5 separate regions of the Homo sapiens genome follow, and all the other regions are linked to region 3. Evidence: promoter capture Hi-C in human tissues and cell types (Jung and others, 2019). All regions are on one chromosome and are shown on one strand. The core of a region is centred on a gene start or on the middle of the fragment in contact, and the rest is flanking DNA. Distances in the headings are between cores, read along the strand shown.

Region 1 (3,401 bases), core at 352-2,851, 490 kb after region 3:
TTCTGGGAGACCCCAGCAAATCCCTGAGCGTCTAGTCCCATGTCCTGATCTGCAAGCCGGGCATGCAAAACACAGGGAGATGCACACGAAGCTTTCACAGGAGTCCTGGTGCTGAGGTTTTGCATTTTTTGTTCAGTTTCATTGCCAGCAGCAGCCCCTGTGTCCCACTGAGTACTTCTGGAGGGGTCCAGCCACCTTATGCCTCCACACTCTCCAGCCTGCGGGGCCTGGCCCTTGGCACATCCAGGCCACCAACCTCAAAAATCAAATCAGTGAGATGGGTCGGGCGAGGTGGCTCACACCTGTAATCCCAGAACTTTGGGAGGCCGAGGCGGGCGGATCACGAGGTCAGGAGATCCAGACCATCCATGGTGAAACCCCATCTCTACTAAAAATACAAAAATTAGCTGGGCGTGGTGGCACGCGCCTGTAGTCCCAGCTACTTGGGAGGCTGAGGCAGGGGAATCGCTTGAACCCGGGAGGCGGAGGTTGCAGTGAACTGACATCACGCCACTGCATTCCAGCCTGGGCAACAGAGCCGTCTCAAAAAAAAAAAAAAAAAAAATCTGCGAGAGGGTGGGGGGTGCCGAGGCCAGTCTGGGCCAGCCTTAGGGTCAGGGGTCACTAGGGAGACCCGCCAGCTGGGATTTGATGAAGGGTTCACTCCCGTCCCCACTTAGGGCGTCCTCGGCCAGAGGTGGCCAGCGCCTGCCTCTAGGAACGTCCCTGCCCCTCAGGCCAGACACAGAGCATGCAGCCCCCCACTCCGGGGAGCCTCTCGACTCTGGCCGCACGTCTGTGTCCCTTCCCCAGACCTGGGCCCTCCCTCAGCTCCGGCGTCCACTGGGCGATCTGAGGAGCCCGCCCGCTCTGGGCCTGTTTCCCCACTGACACCCTCAGAGACGCCTGGCTCTTAGGATCAGAGCGTCTGCGTCCCTCTCCGAGGTCCCGGCCCTTCCCGGGGCCACTCTGCGCCCGGCGGGGAGGGGAGTCGTTCACGGCCCCACGCAAGACCCCCGGGCAGAGCGCGAGGCCTCGTCCCCCCACGCAGCCACTGCTTTCGTCGCGCTCAGACCCGGCGGCCCGGCCCGGCCCGGCGCACGCCCCGGAGCGCCCTGCTTCGCTCTCGTAGCGGAGACGCTCCTGCGTCCTAACGGGCCCCCAGGACGGCGGGCGGTCCCCGCGCGCTGCGCTTCCTCTCGGCAACGCGTCCGGCTGCGGCGCCCTCATTGGCCGCGCGCCCCGCCACCGGCCATTGGCTCGCAGTGCCTGTTTTACATAGGCCGCTCTGGCCAATCGGCGCGCGGCGCCTACTTAACATGCACGGCGGCCGCCAGTCAGCTAGCGCGGGGGCCGGGCCACCACGTGCTGTTGCTAAGCTCGGGCTTCTAAATTGTTACTAGCGCGGCCGGCCTATCCCAGCCCAGCTCTGCATCTGTCAACATTCTCGGCCCGGCCCGAGGCGCTCGACCCGTCCCCATTGGCCCCAGCCCGGCCCGGCGCCCGCCCCCGGGGCGCGAACGCCGCCTCCCATTGGCTCTGCGGGCCGCCGCTCTCCCTTATGTGTCAATTTGAGGGCCTGAGGCGGAGGGTGGCGGCCGAGCGCCGGAGTCCGCGGAGTCTGGAAGTGCGGCGGCCGGGCGCGCGGGGTGGGCGGCGAGCGGAGCCGGCCGGAGCGGGCCGGGCAGCGGCCGCCGCCGTCCCGGGGCGGACGGGCGCGGGCGGGAGGATGGAGCTGAACTCCCTGCTGATCCTGCTGGAGGCGGCCGAGTACCTGGAGCGCAGGGATCGAGGTAGCGCTCGCACCCCATTGTGCGCCCGCGGCGGTGGGCGGGCGGCGGGGCCGTGCCGGGCGGGGGCCGCTGACCGCGCCGTGTGTCCGCAGAGGCCGAGCACGGCTACGCCTCGGTGCTGCCCTTCGACGGCGACTTCGCCAGGGAGAAAACAAAGGCGGCCGGCCTGGTGCGCAAGGCCCCGAACAACAGGTACCGCCCCCCGCTCCCGACCCCGCCCGGCCCGGTCCGAACCCCCGCCCCCGCCCGGAGCGTGCTCTCCGGGCCCCGATTCCCGGCCCGCGGCCCTCAGCGCCGCCGCCGCGCGCCCCGGCGGCCAGCCTGGAGGAGGAGGCGCGCAGGCCGCGGCCGCAGCCCCGCCCGGCCGGCCCCGCCCTCGCCGTCGCCATCTTCCCGCGGCCGCGCCTCCCGGGCCGCTCGCGTAAACAGTGCCACGCGTACAGCGCCCGCCGCCGGGGTCCGCTCCCGCGCCCGCTCCCCGCCCCCGAGTTGTTCTGGACTTTTCCAGGCGGTAGAAAAGTTGTCAGCGGGCGCTGGCCGGTGCCCCGTGGGTCTGGGGAAACAGGCTCAGCCAGGGTCTGCGGGGGCTGCCGGCCCTAACCCCTTCTCTCCGCGGGTGGGTGGGCGGCCTCCTTTCGACTGGCTCTGCCAGCCGAACTCTGCTGCTCGGCCACCTTCCCCCGCCCCCAGGAGCCTAGACAGAGAAGCGAGTGGAGGCGCTGTCCTGGGCCCTCACTCCTCCCAGGGTGCCCACCGCTTCTGCCCAGCCTCCTGACACAGCGAAACTCCAGCCACCAGTATGGGGGTCCTCTTTTTTAAGACAGAGGCCTTTTAAGGGGGCGGGAGGAGGGGGCAGGCTGCAGGGCAGGGGCCCCATGAAGTCGTTACTACGGGTGCCAGCTGCGCCCTCCATACCTTGACCTCGTGTTCAGGCAGCAGAAGCCCTGAAGCTGGGGTGCGTACAGGTCCCCCGCGTGGGGAGTGGGGACCCTGGGCCGGGGCTCCCCGGGGATTTCCACCCTCCTGGCTGCTGTGAGGACCATAGCACACCTGGTCCTGTCTGGGCCCACCTTGGCCCAGCCCTTTTGTGTGAGCAGGCTGGGAGCTGCGTTTGTAGGGGGCTTCAGAGCCCCAGGGCATGGCTCATTCCTGTGGTCCACCTGTTCTAGGGAATCCGAAAGGCTGGTGTAGGGACCCATTTCTGTGGCATCCTGAGCCAGGCGAGGAATTGGTTGAGTCTCCAGCTGCCCTGGCTGGGACCCGTCCCTGAGTCCCAGCCCCTGGTCCCCTACTGGGGACAGTTTGGGGAAGGACAGGAGTGTGACGAGGGAACCATTGCCTCAGGCCTCCTCAGTGAGCAAGCCCGGCCCCCGCTGCCGCTTCTCTCCAAACCAAGTCCCTGACCCGTGGAGAACTCTGGGGCGTGAGCTGGGGCTCCCCCAGCATGGAGAATCCAAAGCTGACAACCAGCGTCCTGGCCAAGGCTGCCCGAACACTGCCTCTATGCTGAGCGTTTCACACATGCAGCCAGTTCATCTTCACCCCAGGCTCAGAGAGGTGATGTGATTTTTATCTCTATGGCCAAGGAAACTGAGGCAAGGAGAGGTT
Region 2 (3,903 bases), core at 3-2,502, 330 kb before region 3:
CGGGGTTTCACCGTGTTAGCCGGGATGGTCTGGATCTCCTGACCTCGTGATCTGCCCATCTCGGCCTCCCAAAGTGCTGGGATTACAGGTGTGAGCCACCACACCCGGCCCAGTAATGCTGTATTTTAATTGATCTTGGTTTTTTTTTTTTGGAGATGGAGTCTTACTCTGTCACACAGGCTGAAGTGCAATGGCGCACTCTCAGCTCACTGCAACCTCTGCCCCTCGGGTTCAAGCAGTTCTCTTGCCTCAGCCTCCCAAGTAGCTGGGACTACAGGTGCACACCACCATGCCCGGCTAATTTTTGTATTTTTAGTCAAGATGGGGTTTCATCATGTTGGCCCGGCTGGTCTCGAACTCCTGACCTCAAGTGATCTGCCCACCTTGGCCTCCCAAAAGTGCTGGGATTACAGGCATGAGCCACCACGTCCGACCTGATCTTGATGTTTTAATGTCATGTGTGTTGGATTATTTGGATGAACATTACCTCTGGTTTGTTTCACTCTGAACATGGGAGACTGAGACACAAGTATCACTTGAACCCAGGAGGCAGAGGTTGCAGTGAGAAAAGATCATGCCACTGCACTCCAGCCTGGGCAACAGAGCAAGACTCTGTCGCCAAAAAAAAAAAAAAAAAAAAAAAGACAAAGCATTTCCATTACAAGTATTCCCCTGTGTTGTCCTTTTATAACCACATTCACCTCCCTCTCTTTTCTCTCCTCTGCCACCACTAACCTACTCTACTACCCCATCTCTAACCCCAGGCAACCACTAATCTATTCTCCATCCCTAAAACTGTGCCATTGCAAAAAAACATAGAATCATACAGTATGTATAACCTTTTGGGATTGGCTTTTTTCATTAGCATAACTTCACCTAAACTGTTGCATGCTATCAGTAGCTCATTCCTTTTTATTACTGAGTAGTTTAACCATTCACCTGTTGAAGGACATCTGAGCTGATTCCAGTTCTTAGATATTATGGGTAAAGCTGCTATGCATACTTGAGTATAGGTTTTTATGTGAACATTAAGGTTTCATTTCTCTAGGATTAATGCCCAGGATTGTAGTTGCTGCTGGGCTGTATACTAACGGTATGTTCAGTTTTATGACAAACTGCCAAACTGTTTTCCAGAGTGGCCGTACTATATTATATTCCCACCAGCAATAAGTGACCTAGTTTTTCTAAATCCTCACCAGCATGTGGTATTGTCAAAGTGATCTTTTCATCTAAATGCATATATATACATATATATGTGTGTGTGTGTGTGTGTGTGTGTGTGTGTGTGTGTGTGTGTGTGTGTGTGTGTGTATATTTAGAGACAGGGTCTCACTCTCTTGCCCAGGTTGTAGTGTAGTGGCATAATCATAGCTCACTGCAGCCTCAAACTCCTGGACTCAAGCAATCCTCCAGCCTCCTCAGCCTCCTGAGTAGCTGGGACTACAGGCACACACCACTATGCCCAGCTAATTTTTTAAAGTTTTTTGTAGAGACCTTATAGGTGCTGCTATGTTGGCTATGCTGGTCGTCTGGCCTCAGGCAATCCTCCCACCACACCGTCTCAAACTACTGGTATTACAGGCATGAACCATTGTGCCCAGCCAAAATGATCTTTTAAAAACATAAATTAAACTACTTGTTTTGACCACACAAGCTTATCTTGGTGCACAAGACGCTCGTCTCTAACCTCTCATCTCTCGCAGCCTCATCCTTATTTCTGCCCTTCACCTTACTTCAGCCACTGGCCTCCTTACTGGTTCTCAAACATGGAAAGCATTTCTGCCTTCTGTTAACTCTGCCTGGACCTCTCTTCTCCCGCTATACACATGGCTTGCCCCCTTTCCACTCAAATGTCACCTTCTAACCACAGCTCTCCTTTGTGCCCTAAATAAAATTGCACATTGTCTCTCCCCTCATTCGGTTGTTTTTCTCCATAGTGGCTGCTCAGATGAAAGGGTCCTTCCAGTTCATCTAAGCGAGTCCCACTACCAATGGCTGGGAGCTCTCCGCAGGCTCACCTCAGCTCACTCATCACAGCTACAGAAATGCTCAACGGCCCTACAGCAGATAAGCAAGGCCACCTCAGCTACACCTGGACACATATGAGCAACACAGGTCTTCCTCCCAAATGCTTGCATTGTTATTAGCAACAACAAAGGTAAGGTCTAAGCACCTACAGTGGAGCTTCCCAAACTCCAATGTGCATGTAAGTCACTCACTGAACCTGTTAAAACACAGACTCTGATTTGTCAGGTCAAGCAGAGAGAGTCTGCTTATGAGATCCCAAATGATACCAAACGACTGTCCCTGAGACCTCACTGTGATAGCAAGGACCTATGGACATATCATGTCTCTAACATACATTCTAGCCCCCAAATTGATCCAATTTAATACAATATTAAACAGTGCTTTATAAGGTATTTTATTTTTCCTCCTTGTTGTCTGAATAAGACTAAATGTTTTGAGTGTGGATCCATTCAAAGGTAGTTTATCAAGTGGTTGACTTATTTACAGGAAATGGAGGTGATGGGGATGGGGACTTCTCAAGGTAGAGAGAATATGTCACCAGCACATTCTACAGCCACAAAAATGTGAGACCTTTGCCTTTACATCTCCAAAAGTCCTCTTTTAAAAAGAAATTCTAAAATATTACATAGCAATTAATAAGAATTACAGGTACTGCTATGGAACAATATCTATGACACATTGTTAAGTAAAAAAATACATATGTAATGTGATCTCAGTCAAGCAAACAAAAAATGACACATTTAAATGCTTGTATATGCATATTAAAATCTGGGAAGAAGACACAAGAAACACTTTTGTTCTTAGGAAGTTAGACAAAGATGACAGACTTGCAAGAAGGGCTTTGTTTTTCATCTGTGCTGCTTGAAGATATTTTTATAATGTATATGTGTAACTTTTATAATTTTCAAAACTAGTTTAAAAAAAAAACAAAAACAGCCAAAAAAGAAATGCTTTCCAGCAGGGTGTGGTGGCTCACACCCTGTAATCCCAGCACTTTGGGAGGCTGAGGCGGGTGGATCACCTGAGGTCAGGAGTTCAAGACCAGCCTGACCAACATGGAGAAACCCCGTCTCTACTAAAAATACAAAATTAGCTGGGTGTGGTGGCGCATGCCTGTAATCCCAGCTACTAGGGAGGCCGTGCAGGAGAATGTCTTGAACCTGGGAGGCAGAGGTTGCAGTGAGCCGAGATCGCGCCACTGCACTCCAGCCTGGGCAACAAGAGTGAAACTCCGTCTCAAAAAAAAAAAAAAAAAAAAAAAAAGAAATGCTTTCCAAATGTGGTCCTATCATATTTTAACCTAGGAGTGGGAAAACTATAACCTGCATATTTTTGGCTAGTTCACAAGCTAAGAAATGTTTTTACATTTTTAAATGGTTGACCAAAATAATCAAATACTATCTCATGACAGGTGAAAATTATATGAAATTCAAACTTCCTTGTCATTAATAAAATTCTATTGGAACACAGACACTCATACATATTGCTTATGGCTACTTTCATGCTACAATGGCAGAGCCGCGTAGCTGTGACAGAGACACTGTGCCCACACAGCCCGAAATACTTACAATCTGACCATTTACACAAAGTTTGCCCATGTTCATAGGTGGAAGACAATATTGTTAAGATGCGAATACTCCCCAAGTTGATCTACAGATTCAACACAATCCCTCTCAGAATCCTACTTGGCTTCTTTGTTGAAACTGACAAGCTGATCCTACAATTCGTACGGAAATGCAAGGGACCCAGCATGGCCAAATCAATCTTGAAAAGGAACAAAGTTGGAGAACTCACATTTCATGAATTTAAACTGTGACACAAACTTCAGTAATCAAGACTGTATGGTACTGGCACAGGATCGACATAAAGACCAAC
Region 3 (3,879 bases), core at 1,003-3,502:
GGCAAGGCAGTAGCCGTGATGTCTTGTGGGAGCTAGCTGCAGAAGTCACACTCCATCATTTCTGCAGTACCCTCTTAGTTACCCAGGTCAGCCCTCTCCAGTGGATTGGAGGGGACTACACAGGAGCATGGATATTGGAAGGAGGGGATCCTCTTTGAAAGCTGGCTCCCCCAGTTATATGTACCTATTTGAAATCCAAAGATCCTCATTTCTAAAATACACATGGCGGCCTGGCGTGGTGGCTCACGCCTACAATCCCAGCACTTTGGGAGGCCGAGGCAGGCGGATCACTTGAGGCCGGGAGTTCGAGACCAGCCTGACCAATATGGTGAAACCCCGTCTCTACTAAAATACAAAAAATTAGCCAGGCGTGGTGGCGGGCGCCTGTAATCCCAGCTAATTGGGAGGCTGAGGTGGGAGAATCACTTGAACCTGGGAGGCGGAGGTTGCAATGAGCCAAAAATCACACCACTGCACTCCAGCCTGGGCGACAGATTGAGACTCCGTCTAAAATAAATCAATACGATACAGTACAGTACAATACAATACAATACACCACACCTGACCCCAAGGCTGTTGTTGGATGAGAGACTGTGGATTGTCACATGCACCTTTTACAGTTGAGGCAGAGGCTCAAGGTAGGTCACTGGAATGACGTGCCCCAGGCCACACATTAGCCTCTAACAGCTCTGGGTCCAGTTTTGTTTTTTCCACTCATGCCCCAGACAATCAATAGGCATTGTTTGTAACCATAGCCATGGGGACTGTAGGCTTGCTGTGCAGCAGCCACTGCACTGGACAAGCATTCCATGCACACTCCACCCTCTAGTCCCCACAACAGCCCAACCAGGTAGGGTGGGCACTCGCTCTGCCCTTCCTTCTGCTGAGAGGAAGCCCAGGCTCTGATGAGTAAGAAGGAGCCTTCCATAGCAAAGCCAGGCCTGTGTAGCCCAATGTCCGGGCCATAAGCACTTGGGTGGCTCTGGCTTTGCTTATAGGCTTGTCTGATTCTACAAGCTTGTGTTTTCCCAGGCTCAGCTCAGGCTTGGCTGTGGATCACATAAGGGAAGAAAGTCAAGAAGCTGCTCAGGGGCGGAGCCTGTGGGCAAGTGCACACACAGGGAAGACCCCTGCCCTATCCTGAGTAGGGAACCTTGGAAAGACCCCATGTGTGCTTGGGCATCATTGTGGGGAAGACTGGGCTGTGGAAAAACACTAGCGTTTGTCTGGGAATTTTGGGGAAGGAAAGGGATGGAAAAGCGAAAGGGTGGGAAGGGGCTGGTTTCCTGCTGCTTCTGCTATATAAGAACAGCATCTAGCAGGAAGGTTGTCCCGTGGGCCCATACTAGCCACCTTACAAAGCAGCGTCTGCAGTGGCTGACGCCTGTAATCCCAGCACTTTGGGAGGCTGAGGCCGGTGGATCTACCTGAGGTCAGGAGTTCAAGACCAGCCTGGCCAACATGGTGAAACACCATCTCTACTAATAATACCAAAAAATTAGCAGGGCATGGTGGCGGGCGCCTGTAATCCCAGCTACTCAGGAGGCTGAGGCAGGAGAATCGCTTGAAACTGGGAGGCGGAGGTTGTAGTGAGCCGAGATCGCGCCATTACACTCCAGCCTGGGCAACAGAGCGAAACTCCGTCTCAAAAAGAAGAAAAAAAAGGAAAGAAAAAAGAAAGCGGCGTGCGGGGCAGGGGGTTGGAGCTCTTTCTGGGCTCAGTGTCCCCAGGTGACGGAACACATGCCACGTGCTTGGTGCGCTGCGAGCTCAGCTCCTGGAGCTTCTGTTGCTGCTGTGGCCGCAAGGCCTGGACCCTCGCGGGGAGATTCAGACCCACACTTAGCTCCAGAGCTTGGGGGTTGTCGTTAAGCCCTTCCTTTCCATCAGAGGCTGATGAATCCCCAAACTCCTGGGCTGAGTTCGACTCTCCGACAACTCCTCAGAGGCGGATGTTTGGGGCCACTGGAATAAGCCCAGCACCAGCTGGGGTGTGGACAGCCTCGGGGGCCAGGCCAACTCTCCCGGACGGGTGCGGACGGCAGGGGCGGGGCCGGGCTGTAGGCGGTGGGAGGGGTGGGGCCGGGCGAGAAGGGGCTGGGCGGGCTGCCGTCGGGCGGGGCTGCGCGGGGAAGGGCGGGGCTGCGCGGGGGGCGGGGCTGCGTGGGGGAGGGCGGGGCCGGGCTGTTGTGGGTGGGCGGGGCGCACCGGGGAAAGTTCCGGGAAGGGCGGCAGCCGGCGGGGCCCGGGCGCGGAAGTTGCCGGCGGCCGCGCGGCCTCCCGGGCGGGCCTACAGCCATGTCCCGGGACCCGGGGTCGGGCGGCTGGGAGGAGGCCCCGCGCGCAGCTGCCGCGCTCTGCACCCTGTACCACGAGGCCGGACAGCGGCTGCGCCGCCTGCAGGACCAGCTCGCTGCCCGCGACGCCCTCATCGCTCGCCTCCGCGCCCGCCTGGCCGCGCTGGAGGGGGACGCCGCGCCGTCCCTAGTGGACGCGCTGCTGGAGCAGGTTGCGCGCTTCCGGGAGCAGCTGCGAAGGCAGGAGGGCGGCGCCGCCGAGGCCCAGATGCGCCAGGTACGAGGGCGGGTACCAGAGGAGCTGCGGGAGCGAGAGTGCGTGTGGCGGCCGCCGGGTCCTGGGTGGGTGAGCGAGCGGGCCCCGGGTCCTGAGGGGTTGAGGGGGTACTGGGTCCTGGGGTTGAGTTGGCCTCGGGTCCTGAGGGGTTGGGGGAGCACCAGGTCCTGGGAGTTGAGGGGGTGCCGGGTCCTGGGGGTGAGGGGGCCCCGGCTCCTGAGGGGTTGGGGGAGCATCAGGTCCTGGGGGTTGAGGGGGTGCCGGGTCCTGGGGTTGAGGGACACTAGGTCCTGGGGGTAAGGGGCCGTCGGGTCCTGGGGGTGATAGGGCAACAGCTTCTGGGGGGTGAGGGGACCCTGGGTCCTAGGGGAGAGAGGGGGACCAGGTCCTGAGTGGGATAAGGGGACACCACGGGCTGAGGTGTGCTGGGTCCTGGGGGGTTTGAGGCGTCACCAGGTGCTGGTGGAGGTGAGGGGGCTCTGGGTCCTGCGGGGTGAGGGTGCAAGGTTCTGAAGGGGATAAGCGAATGCTGGATCCTGGGGGGTTGGGAGGGCACTGGGTCCTGGGGGATGGTGAGGAGGCACTGGGTTCTGAGGAGGGGGGTTGGTGCAGTTCTTGGGTTCTGTGTGTGTGTGGTGTATGTTCAGGTGGGCTCTTAGGGGTATTTTGAGGTTCGTGTGTGGGAACACATTCCGAGGGGGGTGTGTGTATGCTGTGTGTATTCTGTGTGTATTGTGTAGTGTGTATGTTCCGGTTGGTTCTTAGGGGTGTTTTGAGGTGTGTGTGCGGGAGACACATTCTGAGGGGTGTGTATGGTGTGTGTGTGTACGCACACATGTGTGTCTTGGGTCCAAGGTCGTGTACTCATATTGTGTTCTAGAGTCCCTTCCAGCCCTCACCCATGCATGTGTCTTTCACTAGTGGCGCTTCAACTCTATGCTGGGAGCAATGGCAAATGCAGCCCGTGTCTGATAAAGGACACAAATCCTAGGCTGGGTGCAGTGGCTCACGCCTGTAATCCCAGTACTTTCGGAGGCAAGGCGGGCAGATTGCCTGAGCCCAGGAGTTCGAGACAAGGCTGAGCAACATGGTGAAACCCTGTCTACAAAAAGTGCAAAAAATTAGCCGGGCATGGTGGCACGTGCCCGTGCTCCCAGCCACTAGGGAGACTTAGGTGGGAGGATCACTTGAGCCTGGGAGGCAGAGGTTGCAGTGAGCCAAGATCGCACCACTGCACTCCAACCTGGGTGACAAAGTGAGACCTTGTCTGAAAAAATTAAATTAAAAATGGACACAAGGGTCCGG
Region 4 (3,365 bases), core at 645-3,144, 310 kb before region 3:
GGATGATGAGAACTTGGGAGAGAAGTGCCTCCTTCTGATAACCCTCTGCCTCTGAGTGTCCCCATTAAATGCATCTTATGCCTGTCCTGTGTATTGTTGATGGTGTTTGTCATTGTCTGGACTTGCTTTCACAGTATGGATTTCTTTTTTTCTCCTTGGAATTCACTGGGCTTTGAATTTGTGAACTGATGGCTTTCATCAGTTTCGAAGCCTCTCAGTCACCGTCCTTGAAACACGGCTTCTGTTCTTCTCCTTCTCTCTCTCCCTGGTACTCCAAATAAATGTATATTAGATCCTCTCACCATATCCTTTCTTCTGCATTTTCCATTCCTTGGCCTCTCAGTGCCTTATTCTGGGTAGTGTCATCTGACTTACTTCCTAGTTCTCTCTGGCTATTTCTATTCTGCTGTTAAACCCTTGCTTTACCATTAAGTTCTGGAATTCTGCAGTTTTCGGGACCGTAATTTATACTGACTCTAAAGTATGCTGTTGTCACATTTTATAGTTTCTGATTTCCTGCCAACACTTTCAAGTTTTGCAAATTTCCTCTTTGAACATGGGAAACATAGTTGTTTAAGTGTCTGTATTTCATATCTCCATTATCTAGACACTAGATAGATTCTAGGCCTCTGAGGGTATGTTTCTCATGCCTGAAGTTTCTGCTAATTCCCATCCATCAGGCCTCATATCACGTTCCTGGTAATTTGTGTTTGTGTGCTGGACATTGTATTTGAAATTTATTAGAGAGTCATTTGAAGCTTAAGGTATTATCTTCTTCCGGAGAGGATTTTTGTTTGCAATGCCAGGCTCCTGGGACACTAGAAGTCCTAGGCCATCTTAATCCAAGTTCCAGTTTTGAGGAACTGGATGTGGTTGATATGAAGGGATTGGTATGGTCCCAGAGGACCATCCATATTTCAGAGCTGGTTTACTTCCAAGTCATCCTTCTTCTTGGGTGGGGTGGACCCCAAAGTGGACCCCAAAGTGGAAAGGAATTGCCTGGGACCCTAAACTTGGCATGCGCTAGATTTCATTTTTAGTCCCCTATGCTCAAGAGGCTTAGCTCAGACGGGGCACGGTGGGTCACGCCTATAATCCCAGCACTTTGGGAGGCCGAGGTGGACAGATCATGACGTCAAGAGATCGAGACCATCCTGGCCAACATGGTGAAACCCCGTCTCTACTAAAATTACAAAAATCAGCTGGGTGTAGTGGCGGGAGCCTGTAATCCCAGCTACTCGGGAGGCTGAGGCAGGAGAATCGCTTGAACCAGGGAGGTGGAGGTTGCAGTGAGCTGAGATCGCACCATTGCACTCCAGCCTGGCAACAGAGTGAGACGCCACCTCAAAAAAAAAGGAGGCTTAGCTCAGCCTTCCAGATACCTTGTCCAGATCAGCAAATACCCGCAAAGCAGAAGCAGCCCTGGTGTTTGGCCTCTCTCTCTGCGCTCCCACCCTCTTCTGGCTTCCAGCCCCGAAAGCTGCTTACTCTGTTAATGTTTATGTTTGTCTGGATTTATTCATTATGTTCATTAGGATGATAGAAACGGATTCTATCGTCCGTCATCAATGTACATGGAAGTTCCTCCTGAAAATAAAGATGGTCCCAAACTTAGGCTGGTTCAACTAAAATTTTTTGACTTGATGATGGTGCAAAAGCAGTACACATTCAATGGAAACCACACTTCAAATTTTCAACTTTGATCTTTCCCCAGGCTAGTGATGTGCTACGTAATACTGTCTTGTGAAGCTGGGAAGCTCCCAGGCAGCCACGCAGTCACAAGGGCAAACAGCAGATGCTCTGCAGTAGACTGTGCTGCTGTGTGATTTTGCCAATTGTAGGCTGACGTCAGTGTCTGAGCATAGCTAAGGCAGGCTGGGCTCAGCTATGATGTTTGGTAGGTTAGGTGTATTAAGGGCATTTTTTACTTATATTTTCAACTTATTATGGATTTATCTAGAGGTAACCCCATAGTAAGTCAATAAGCATCAGTATTAAGGATAATGTTGAAAGTAGTTGGGCTGGCGTGGTGGCTCACACCGGTAATCCCAGTACGTGAGGTTGGGAGTTCAAGACCAGCCTGACCAACATGGTGAAACCCCATCTCTACTAAAATACAAAAAAAAATTAGCCGGGCATGGTGGTGCGCGCCTGTAGTCCCAGCTACTCGGGAGGCTGAGGCAGGAGAATCGCTTGAACCTGGGAGGCGGGGGGCGTGCAGTGAGCCAACATTGCACCACTGCACTCCAGCCTGGCAACAGAGCAAGACTCCGTCTCAAAAAAAAAAAAGAAGAAAGAAACTAGCTATCCTCTTATTCCTAATTTTAACATTATTCCCTCCAGCGTGTGCCCTTATCGGGTAAAATGATGCCTTCTGGGCTGATAAATATATTTTATCATGCTAAAGAAGGAGTAACTAATTTATTTTATTGACCACCTAAAAAGTAGGTGTTGAATTTGGTCAAATGCCTTTACAGCATCTATGAAAATAATCTATTTTTTCTTTGGGTATATTCACATGATCTATTATATTGTGTTACTGAATTTCCTTGTATTGAACCATCCATGCATTATTGAAATAAACCCCACTATGTTATGATGTGACATTTTTATGTATTGTTGGGTTCTGTCTGGTAATACTTTATTAAGGGTTTTGTATTCATAAAAGAGATTGGTATGAAGTTTTGTATAAGGTCTTTATAAGATTTTGGTATCAATTTATACTTGCTTTATAAAAAGAATTGGGAAGTTTTGTTTTTCTAGAGTCTGGAATATTTCAAGCCCATTCAAAGTTTTATTTGCTCTCTAAGGTGTGCTAACATTCCCATGTCAGATTGTTTGAGCCTGGTGTTTTTTTGAAGGGTAGCACTTTGACAACTTTACTTCTTCTCTTGAAAATATCCTATTTAGGCTTCTATTTTACTTGTGGTTAGTTTTGATAAATTATGTTTTCCTAGAAATGCATTTCATCCAAGTTTTATGTTTATGTTCATAAATTTCTGCAAAGTATTCATTATCTTTCTCTCTTTACATGATTTTTCTCCCCTTGAAATTAATTTTTGTGTATTTTTAGTTTCTTAATTAGGTTAGATTTTTATTTATTTGGTTAGTTAGTTGATTCTTTTAAGAACAATGTCTTTTGGCCAGGCACGGTGGCTCATGCCTGTAATCCCAGCACTTTGGGAGGCTGAGGCAGGCGGATCACAAGGTAAGGAGTTTGAGGCCAGCCTGGTTAATATGGTGAAACCCCGTCTCTGCTAAAAATACAAAAATTAGCCAGATGTGGTGGCACACACCTGTAGTCCCAACTGCTCAGGAGGCTGAGGCAGGAGAATCACTTGAACCTGGGAGGCAGAGCTTGTAGT
Region 5 (3,535 bases), core at 507-3,006, 450 kb before region 3:
CAAGCAATTCTCTGAGAATCTGATGAAAGCTCAAGACATTGTTCCTCAGTGGCACATCTACACATCCGTCCACAGGACTGCACGTGGTTTGGGGCTGCATCTCCCCTGAGGTCTGGCCCAGCCTTCCTCAAGGGCTTAGAGCCCTATGTCCATGACCATGTCAATGAATGGCAAAGTGGCAAACACACAGGAAGAAATTCTGAGCCGAGGACACCCGTGCTGCTCTTTAGCTACCTCTGTAAACGCTTTCAATGTATTAGATCCACTGCCTTTATTGTACATTTACTTGGTGCAAAGTACTATACTGGCCCTGGAATGCTTTTTAAAAATAAGATAAATTTTAATTTTAATTACCAAACAGATCATTCAACTTGCTCCAGTAGGCCGCCGGCTCTGCAGGCAGCTCGGGCTGGAAGACATGATGGACAGCAGGGAGCTGCTGCACGGTGCCGCTCACACGGGCCAGAGTCACCTCACGGGCTGCTTCAAAAAGGGCACTCTTCTGGCCACCAGAAATTTCACTCATCCCTAGGCTTAAGCATGGAGCTAGCAGGCTTAGGTTGAACTCCTGAAATCAGAGCATTAAAGGTTAACAAACAATAACAACAGATTATGAGCTTTCAATCAGGTAAGAAAAACACAACAGAAAAAAGAATAAGGCAAATGTTTCTGAGAAAATACAAATTGGTATACCATCAAAAATATTTTTAAGAAAATTCTACTCTATGCCTGTTATAAATATTTGAACAATTTCATTCAACATATGCTTAGTAAAATATATATCTGTTCTCTCTTAGTATTTTAAGTAATATTTTAATTTTTTATGCTCTTGGATTTGCTTGAAATAAAAATTTTGGTATGACAATTTTAATTCATAAAAACAAAATCAAAGCTAAAGTGTCATCCAAGACCTCAGTGATACACCAACCACCCTAAAGTTTGAAAAAGATGTTCAAATGCAGCTGAAATACGTAAAAGTAGCCATATGAATGCCAAAATTTTGGTTGGAAAAATGGTATTTCTTATGTCAATTTGGATTATGTTTTAGCAACCCTTTTGTTTAGCCATTTAAAGATTGGTGGCCGATCCTTCAGGTAAAACATCTATCTTAGTTTAATACTCAGAAAAGCATCATGAATGCCAAAAGTTGAAGCTTTCTTTTACAGTCAGAACTTTTACAGCTGTTCAAAGCCCAATTAGCAAATTTGGAAAACCTAATAAACAGATCACTAAGCAAATTTATCACTCAGTAAGTTAGCTTTCACTGCATGAATCTTAAGATAAACAATTTTAGGCCGGGCGTGGTGGCTCAGGCCTATAATCCCAGCACTTTGGGAGGCCGAGGTGGGCGGATCACCTGAGGTCAGGAGTTTGAGACCAGCCTGGCCAACATGGTGAAATCCCGTCTCTACTAAAAATACAAAAATTAGCCGGGCGTGGTGGTGCATGCCTGTTAATACCAGCTATTTGGGAGGCTGAGGCAGGAGAATCGTATGAACCCAGGAGGCGGAGGTTGCAGTGAGCCAAGATAGCGCCATTGCACTCCAGCCTGGGGGACAACAGCGAGACTTTGTCTCAAAAAAAAAAAAAAAGATAAACAATTTTAGTAAATGGATTTTGGGCTAATTCTCCTGTTGTTTTCAGTTGAGCTCTTCAGTACATCAGAACACACTGTTGTGTTGCCCTCCCCACAAGGTCTCTTTTCATGAACACCTGCCGTCACTCCCGGCCTCTACAGGCATTTGTCCTCCCAGGTGCCCACTTCCCTCCCATTTGCTGCATATCAACGCAGGGCTAAAGCACCAGGAGGTTTCTCCCGTCCTAGTAGGTCTGAGAAGAAGCCCTGCTTGGGCCATGGCTGCACCATACCCAAGAGGTGGCCCCCCCACTGCTCACAGGACCTGCCCACGGGTGAGGGACAGGGACACCAAGGCTTTGCATGGCCTCCTAGCTCTGCGCAGGGTGCCCTCTGACATCTGGGGTTGGGGGGTGAAGAACCTCACTACATCTAACAGAGGTGTGAGTAGAGGAAATCTCGCTGCATCCAAGGGTCTCTTTTACGACTAAAGATCAACTTCCAAGACACTAGAAACAAGTTATTGACGTCACGCATTACGACACTGTGTTGAAGTCTACGGCAAATACGCAACCTTGACTTCCATTCTGTCTTGGCCATGGAGCTTAGATGATAACATCCTGTGTTTGTTCCTCCAGTGGAGGCCAGATAGTTCTCATCCCAAACCATACACCCAGCCTTGGGGCCAGCTGGATTTCAAAACAACACCTCCGTGGATTCTAATGTGGCTGAAACAATGTGCTTTTCTGTCTCGATCAGCATAACCCCCATGTCCCGACCCCATCTGAAATGGAGTCCTCCCCACTTCCCGGCCCCATTCAGAGTGGAGTCTCTCCGACATCCCGTCCCTGCCCAGACTGGAGTCCCCAACATGTGTTGTCAACAAGTGGGTCACATGATGATGAGACAAATCCCACTTGGAAGTCACAAGAAAAGCTGAGGATTCCTTGCCTCCACTGCTCCCCCCGTACCGAGTTCATCATGAAGGCATTCATATCTTCAGCAGGAATCCGATTCACCAGCTCTGCACCTTCCAGCAGTGCAGAATCTGACCTGGTCCAACACTGGGATTTGACAAGATGAACGTACCAGTCCTGGGAAGAAAAAAATGGATAAGGGGAACATGATGGGCGGCGTTCAAGGGGACTTCACATCCCTGGAGCTACAGGCCTAGGCCAGTGCTTGGGAACACCGCACTAGGCTGAGAGGGCTGCCGGCCGGCAGGCTGTGGCTATACGGCTCACCACACCACAGGTTTTCCCCTTTGGACTTCTGTTACCTGCCTGGGCACCCTCACAGCCTCCCCCTTCACCTGGTGAACTTCCAATAGGCCTTCCAAATATAGCTAAACCACTAAGGGTTAGCGGCCCCTTTGCCATCCTCTCCTGGGTTGTCTGCTTTACTCATCTCTCCCCAGCAACCAGGGCAGGGCAGGTGCTTAGCGAATAGAGCCTAAGAAGGCAGGACTGAACCTTCGCTTTCTTATACTTGGGCTGCTGGTTTTTGAAATCTAAATTCATATTCATAAGCTGAACTTTGTCCAGGAAAGTAGAGTACCAAGGCTCTACCAAGGCTCTACCAAGGCTCCAGGTGGTCCCTAACCATGAGGTATGAGCAGTGGAGGTGCTGACAACATACCAGAATGGCTGGCAGTGGCAGTGCAACTCACAGGTGGCCAGAAGGTATGAGGAGATGGAGGGAGGCTAACGGCATTGACATGTGCTTGAAGGCCTGTGCAGTCAGGGGCCTGCAGGCCACGGCCGACTATTCCTTGATTCACCCACTAACTACTCACCCCACACTCCTACCAAAAGGGTCCCACATCAGCACTGCTTGGCTCCCTCAGACCTTGATGGCCCCCCACGTCTCTAACCACAGCTTCACTGAGCCGAGCCGAGCGCCAGAACTCCTTGGGTCCACGGCACCTCCTCTGCACTCTCTGTATCTGCCACAGGTGAC

The links. The method cuts DNA at HindIII sites, captures the fragments that hold promoters and counts their contacts. A contact is called where the count stands out against the background at its distance.
Region 1: a contact is called between the fragment with the promoter of MXD4 here and the fragment with the promoter of TNIP2 in region 3, in 2 of the 25 tissues and cell types used here (bladder and lymphoblastoid cells).
Region 2: a fragment that was not itself captured here is called in contact with the fragment with the promoter of TNIP2 in region 3 in 2 of the 25 tissues and cell types used here (lymphoblastoid cells and spleen).
Region 4: a fragment that was not itself captured here is called in contact with the fragment with the promoter of TNIP2 in region 3 in 1 of the 25 tissues and cell types used here (IMR-90 fibroblasts).
Region 5: a contact is called between a fragment that was not itself captured here and the fragment with the promoter of TNIP2 in region 3, in 1 of the 25 tissues and cell types used here (heart left ventricle).

Annotation. Positions count from the first base shown.
Region 1 is chr4:2,260,309-2,263,709 of GRCh38, reverse strand. It overlaps MXD4 (MAX dimerization protein 4), which reads left to right and starts at 1,601. Exons shown (of 6, transcript NM_006454.3): 1 at 1,601-1,793; 2 at 1,886-1,985. The coding sequence starts at 1,730. RefSeq lists enhancers at 1-588, 589-1,250, 2,482-3,074 and silencers at 882-1,721, 1,772-1,831, 1,922-2,311, 2,322-2,381. The HindIII fragment of the contact is 28,165 bases long and covers 1-3,401 here.
Region 2 is chr4:3,080,939-3,084,841 of GRCh38, reverse strand. The region is part of intron 1 of HTT (huntingtin); the gene reads right to left. Among named protein-coding and RNA genes, the nearest start is that of HTT, 8.2 kb to the right of the region's middle. The HindIII fragment of the contact is 5,667 bases long and covers 1-3,903 here.
Region 3 is chr4:2,754,709-2,758,587 of GRCh38, reverse strand. TNIP2 (TNFAIP3 interacting protein 2) reads left to right here and starts at 2,252. Exons shown (of 6, transcript NM_024309.4): 1 at 2,252-2,574. The coding sequence starts at 2,299. RefSeq lists silencers at 1,790-1,929, 2,110-2,629, 2,650-2,709. The HindIII fragment of the contact is 11,459 bases long and covers 1-3,879 here.
Region 4 is chr4:3,064,170-3,067,534 of GRCh38, reverse strand. It overlaps HTT-AS. Among named protein-coding and RNA genes, the nearest start is that of HTT, 8.8 kb to the left of the region's middle. The HindIII fragment of the contact is 3,839 bases long and covers 1-3,365 here.
Region 5 is chr4:3,208,962-3,212,496 of GRCh38, reverse strand. It overlaps HTT (huntingtin), which reads right to left. Exons shown (of 67, transcript NM_001388492.1): 47 at 2,548-2,670; 48 at 355-568. Among named protein-coding and RNA genes, the nearest start is that of MSANTD1, 38 kb to the left of the region's middle. The HindIII fragment of the contact is 4,523 bases long and covers 1-3,535 here.